2 separate regions of the Homo sapiens genome follow, and region 2 is linked to region 1. Evidence: promoter capture Hi-C in 16 types of primary human blood cells and fetal thymus (Javierre and others, 2016). All regions are on one chromosome and are shown on one strand. The core of a region is centred on a gene start or on the middle of the fragment in contact, and the rest is flanking DNA. Distances in the headings are between cores, read along the strand shown. Region 1 holds the start of CA10 (carbonic anhydrase 10). Region 2 holds the start of TOM1L1 (target of myb1 like 1 membrane trafficking protein).

Region 1 (2,749 bases), core at 19-2,518:
TGGATCTTCCCAGGGATTCCCTCTACGCTCCCTCCTCTTCTTCAATAACCCCAAAGAGGTAGGTTTGAGCTTTCGCAAACCACCACTGCAGCGATGGAAGCAGACAAATCTGTTGAGATTTTGTCTTTCCCCTTTCGTTCCCAGCCCTCTTAGGCAAGCAGTTCTGAGCACAGGGTTTTCTTCAATTCCCCTGCATCCACACTGCAACCGGGTGCAAGTCTTTCCTAGGTTATAGACAGCCCGCCTCCCCACGAGACCTTCTGCGGACTGGCTGCCCCTGGCCTCGGCCTGGGTGGGTGGGTGGTGCTCGCGCCGCCCCTACTTTCCCCTGGGGCCCTGGAGAGCCGCGCGCTGGGTGTGTGTGTGTGTGCGCGCGCGGGTTTGGTGGGGAAATCTCCTTCAGTGGAAGCTGCTGAGTGTCGTTGGCGGAAAGTATCCTGGAGCCCAGCAAAAGCCTCCAAAGCACTAGAGCTTCCCTAAAGAAAAGCAGAATAAAAGAAAGACAAGAAGGGAAGCCCGTTCCTCTAAAGCCCGGGTTTCCAATAGTCCCGGATCCTCCTGGAGTTGGGCGAAGGCGCAGTTGGCAGCAGCCGCTGCTGGCACCCGGACTTGGAAAGGCGGTGTTCCCCCTTTTCGGGAGGAGGGAGGCAGGGACTTGCAGGCAAGAGTTGCACCTGGTCTAGGAACCTGCAGAGAAAAGAACTCTGGGGTAAGTAGTGTTCTGGCACTGGCACGGAAAGGGGTAAAGGGTGGGGGGCATGAGAGGGACGAAATGGAGAGGGCAGGGAATGAATTATGCAAAAAAATCTCCAATATTTCGCAGCGGAGGGAGAGCACAGCACAGCACTCCCAGGATGAGTCCTGCCTGGGTCTCCCGCGCCGAACCCGCAGCACGAAGTTCTTTTTAAGAAGAGAAACTCGAAAATCCTGGAGGGTAACAGAGGCAGCCAGGGCGGGGCGGAGTGCGGAGGCGGCTGCCAGGGACTGGGGCCGAGGCGGCGGCCAAGGTGGCCTGAAGCTGTGACACCCAGCCTCCTCCTCCTCCTCCTCATGGCCGCGCTCAGCCTCACCTCCCCGCCCGGGCCTCCTGCCTCCGCCCCCGGGTGCCGGGCTGCGGAGCTGACGCTGGGACGCCCGGCGGCGGCGAGGACGCTCACCTGGCCAAGCCTCCTTCTCCTCCTCCCCCTCCCGCCCCCACCTGTCCTCCTCCTCTCTGAGTTGGGAAGCGTAGGGATCCGTAGGCGAGGAAATAACGACCCCTGCAGTTGTATTGCGGAAAATCTCGACAGCGGCGCTAGTTGCGGGCGATGGAAGCCAGGCAACTGGGGGTTCTGGGGAGTTCAGGAAAATAGCAGAGGAGCAGGAAGGGCGCGCGCGACCTGGAGAGTCTGTGTGCCCCCACCGCGCCCCAGTCCCCGGGGCCCAGCCCTTCCCCTCGGCGCCCTGGACGCACTGCCGGAACCCGGCTGAGAGGCTGCAGGCTGCGCGCGGACCTGGGGAGCAGGGAGGGTCGGCGGAGGCTGCCGGCGGCTGGCGGTTTCGGGCAATAATCCCTGCCTCTCTTTCTCTGTGTGTCTGCTGTGTCTGCTCCTTCCCCGCCCCCCGGAAGCAGGAGAAGAACTGCCCCGGAGCGCAGCAGCCACCCTCCGACCATGCCCCGGTGAGGGGGGCGGACTTCGAGGGCAACTTGCCGCGGACTGCCTGGGCTTAGCCAGCGAGCTACGCGCTCCCGGGAGCCCGGAATTGCACGGCGCAGCCCGGCGGGGGGCTATCGTCTATGTCTTCTTGGGGCGCCAGACGAATCGGGGTCTCGTTTTTGCTGGAAGAGCCCAGTGTTGGTGGCTTCAGGTGGCTGCTGCCGCCGCCGCCGCCGCCGCCGCTGCTAGTGCGGTTTCCGCCGCTGGTGCGAAGAGAAGAGACACGCGAGCGGGGAGACCTCCAAGGCAGCGAGGCATCGGACATGTGTCAGCACATCTGGGGCGCACATCCGTCGAGCCCGAGGGGAGATTTGCCGGAACAATTCAAACTGCGATATTGATCTTGGGGGTGACTGTCCCTGGCCGGCTGTCGGGTGGGAGTGCGAGTGTGCACTCGCTCGGAAGTGTGTGCGAGTGTGTATGTGTGTGTGCCGTGTCGGGCTCCCCCCTTCCCCCCGTTTTCCCGTCGAGTGATGCACTTGGAATGAGAATCAGAGGATGGAAATAGTCTGGGAGGTGCTTTTTCTTCTTCAAGCCAATTTCATCGTCTGCATATCAGGTACGGGACGCGCCGAAGTCACTGGCTGATTTGGATTATGTTGTGATGTCTGGGGTGTATGGGGTTTTATTGTATATAGCCGCGGGGCAGAGAGAGGGGTGGCGAGACCCTTTGAGTTCTGCGGGTTTGCCGCCTTCAGAATCAAAAATCTTCTCAGCCCAAGGGTGTGTGAATGTGTGTGTTTTGCGGGGGGGGGTGGTTAGGATCTGTGTGCAGTCCTAGAAGGGTGAAGGAAAAAGTGGTGGGGGATGAGAAAGAAGAGGCAGATGGGTGTTGATTTTCAACTGCTTTCCTGGCTGAGAACTCTGGCGCCGAAATCCGAGCCTTGGCAACAACCACCCCCATCCCCTGGCTTTCAAAGTTCCCAGACTCGGTGGTTCCTGGCTGGCAAAATGGACGCGGGGCCCTGCCCGGGTATCTAACCACTTTCAAGAGACTGCGGGAGGATGCGGGACTGGAGAGTACCAGCAGGGATCAGAGATATGTCCTCCAT
Region 2 (2,700 bases), core at 182-2,681, 2.7 Mb before region 1:
ACAAAAAACTTGAATCTGGCACCGAATGGACAAAGCTTACCTCCCTAGAAAAGAAAACTCCTATTCACCCTTCAAAAGCCACGCAGAATTCATTTCTCCCTTCTCCTAAGTTTTGTGTGTTTTGCATTTTCTTGCATTGCAAAGGTGCCACACAAAACTGTGCCCGTCTTCTCTACAAGAAAGTGAGTTCCCTCAGGTTTGAGACCACGTCTCACCTTGGCCTCACCAGTGCCTGATCCAGGTCCAGGCACATAGCTGACAGTTAGTCCATGTTTACAGAATTAAAAAATTAAGCAGAAGAACTGCTGAAGTTTCGTTTGCCTATGAAGACACAGTCTGAATCCATTTCTGCTTGGGGTTCATTCTAATATCCAAAAAAGCACAGCCATTAAGGGAAAGCATCTCCTCAATGGTAGCTACTCTGACCATCTTATAAGGATGTGTAAACTAAGGTTCTGTTTAAGTGGTGTGTTCGGTGTCACAGCAGTTAGTAGAGCTGTGATCTAAATTTTCCAAATCTGGGCCTCTTTACTACAACTACTAGGTTCTCACGATTTCATCACCCCACTAAGTTCCTGACATCATCACACTTTGCCTGGCATTAATATGCACTCGTGCCACACCCAATTCCCAAGGGAGGAATCAGGGAAAAGAAGGAGCAGTGAGCTGGTGCTGGTAGGAGTCCAATCACTGGCTTCTACATACATCATGCAAGGTACATCCGGAGGAGAGAGAAATCATTTAGGTGGATGCTGGTGTAGTCCCTAGTGGCCTGCGAGAGACCTCCGTGGCCCCAGATGGCTCCTATGTTCCCCTCCTCTTCACTCCAATGCCAAGCATTTTCATTCTCTTTGTTTACCCAGAAAAGTAATCCAGGTTGTATAAGCTTGGCACTAGAGAAAACTGGTTTGGGGAGACCTGCCCCTCACAGTAAGGCCACATCACTTAGTCTCCCAGAGCCTCCTCTTCTGATCTGTAAAACGGGCATAACAATACCGTGCCCTGGAGAATGTGCCTTTAGGAATAACTTCCCCTACCGAGAAGTTTCTGGTGTCTCCTCGTGGAGGCCCAAACACTCCATGCCTGACTCCCGCGGTTCACCTGTTTGGTTCCACTCCCCAGGCGGCATCGAAAGGAAGGTACATTTTTGAGGACTGAGGTTCTACAGTGAGTTGGCCAAGAAGGAAACGACGAAAGGGGGCCGGGTGGAATGCGGGTGCCTTGGGAAAGTTGCGGGGGGAGGGGAATAATTTTTTCAAGTTGGACTAACTCCGTCCTCTGCAGGCCGAGAATGGATCAAGCAGGAAAGGATCCCACGGTCCCCTGCCTGCCTGGGCGTCTCTCCCCGCGCCTCCTTACCTATGAGGTGGCCCACGGAGGTCGCGTAGGGATCCCGGTGACTCTTGCCAAACGCCATGGTAGCGCCAGAGGGCCGGGCCCAGGAAATCCGCCTCCACCGCTCTCCGGCTCCCGACTCCACCCGCTCGGTACCCTTGGCTCCTCCTCTTCGCCCGAGCGCTTCCCGGGCTCTGGCAGAGGCGGTGCGTTCTGCGCTGCCGCTGCGGGGCGCGGGCACCGAGCGTGAGGAGCTGGGCGCGGGGCAGGGACGCGAGGGCGGGGCTTCGGGACGCCCAGCGCACCTGCAGCGCGCCCTGCGGGACCCGCGAGGAGGCTGCGCTGCCGGCTGCAGGTGGTACAGGCGGGTAGTGGCGGGTGTATGGAGCCTGCGAGAGTGGCGCGGCCGCCCGCTCGGATCCCAGGTGGGCTTTTCGCCCCGTGCAGGAGGAGCAGGCAGCCCAGAATCTCCAGCCTGGGAATTAGAGACCCAGGCTTTGATCCTGCCGCTTGCTGGGCACCTTGTCATTCTTCTCTGCGCCTCTTTGGCTGCCCTGGGTAGACCAAAGATAATAGGGGGTTAATAACACAAACCTCAGAATTATGAGAATTAAGGGAAGGACGTAACCGATTATGTCGGTGTCTGGTACCCACAAAATAAATAGTTAGCCACTGAATATACTGAATAACTAGAAATATTTACCCTCGACCTGCCTTTGTCCTAGAGATCCGGGAGGGGAGGTGTGCGCCCTGCCCTTTAAAGTTGTGGTCATGTCTAGGAGGAAGGATTGGCTTCGAATTTAGGGCTTCCCAGGAGCAGGCCCTCTTTGTCTCTCTACTATTTCCTCGAGGGACCACAGGGCGCCGCCTCGCAAGCTCTTGTTTTCTAACCCCACCTTCTGGGAGCCGTGTTTTCCAGCCTGATTCTAAAAACGGGAGAGGGGCTTTCCGTTTCTTCTGGCAAGGAGTATGCTTGGCTTTAGGCCTGCTTTGTAATGTAGGTTGGAATCTGAGAAGCCCAACACCTTTCCAGCTGCCCCTTCAGAACCAGAATTTATTTCCTATTCCTTTGCATTCAATTAACATCTGATTGGCGATGTTAACAATCTCCAGCCAGCAGGAGCCTGCCAGAGAGTGAGGTGTCCCCAGGCGATGTCAGATAGCCATAGATGAGCTCCTGGTGCTTGTAGATCCTGTTTCCTGTAGTCTAACTGCCACCCATTTCAAGTCTGTTTTTTAGCCCTGGAGATGGTGACTAGGGAGACGAAGGGGACCTGTTTTGACTTATGTCCGTGGTCTTGTGAATTTTAATATAGAGGTCAAAACCAATTGCCATGCACTCCAGGAGGCTAACATTTAATTATC

What was found. The method cuts DNA at HindIII sites, captures the fragments that hold promoters and counts their contacts. A CHiCAGO score of 5 or more calls a contact.
Region 2: the fragment with the promoter of TOM1L1 here is called in contact with the fragment with the promoter of CA10 in region 1 in 1 of 17 cell types (endothelial precursors); the score reaches 9.8 in endothelial precursors.

What each region holds. Positions count from the first base shown.
Region 1 is chr17:52,157,233-52,159,981 of GRCh38, reverse strand. CA10 (carbonic anhydrase 10) reads left to right here and starts at 1,268. Exons shown (of 9, transcript NM_020178.5): 1 at 1,268-2,256. The coding sequence starts at 2,196. RefSeq lists a silencer at 419-713. The HindIII fragment of the contact is 15,466 bases long and covers 1-2,749 here.
Region 2 is chr17:54,899,583-54,902,282 of GRCh38, reverse strand. TOM1L1 (target of myb1 like 1 membrane trafficking protein) reads right to left here and starts at 1,431. Exons shown (of 16, transcript NM_005486.3): 1 at 1,360-1,431. The coding sequence starts at 1,417. It overlaps LOC124904033 (a long non-coding RNA gene), which reads left to right and starts at 1,546. Exons shown (of 2, transcript XR_007065854.1): 1 at 1,546-2,700. RefSeq lists enhancers at 1,117-1,206, 1,227-1,336 and a silencer at 1,417-1,756. The HindIII fragment of the contact is 6,286 bases long and covers 889-2,700 here.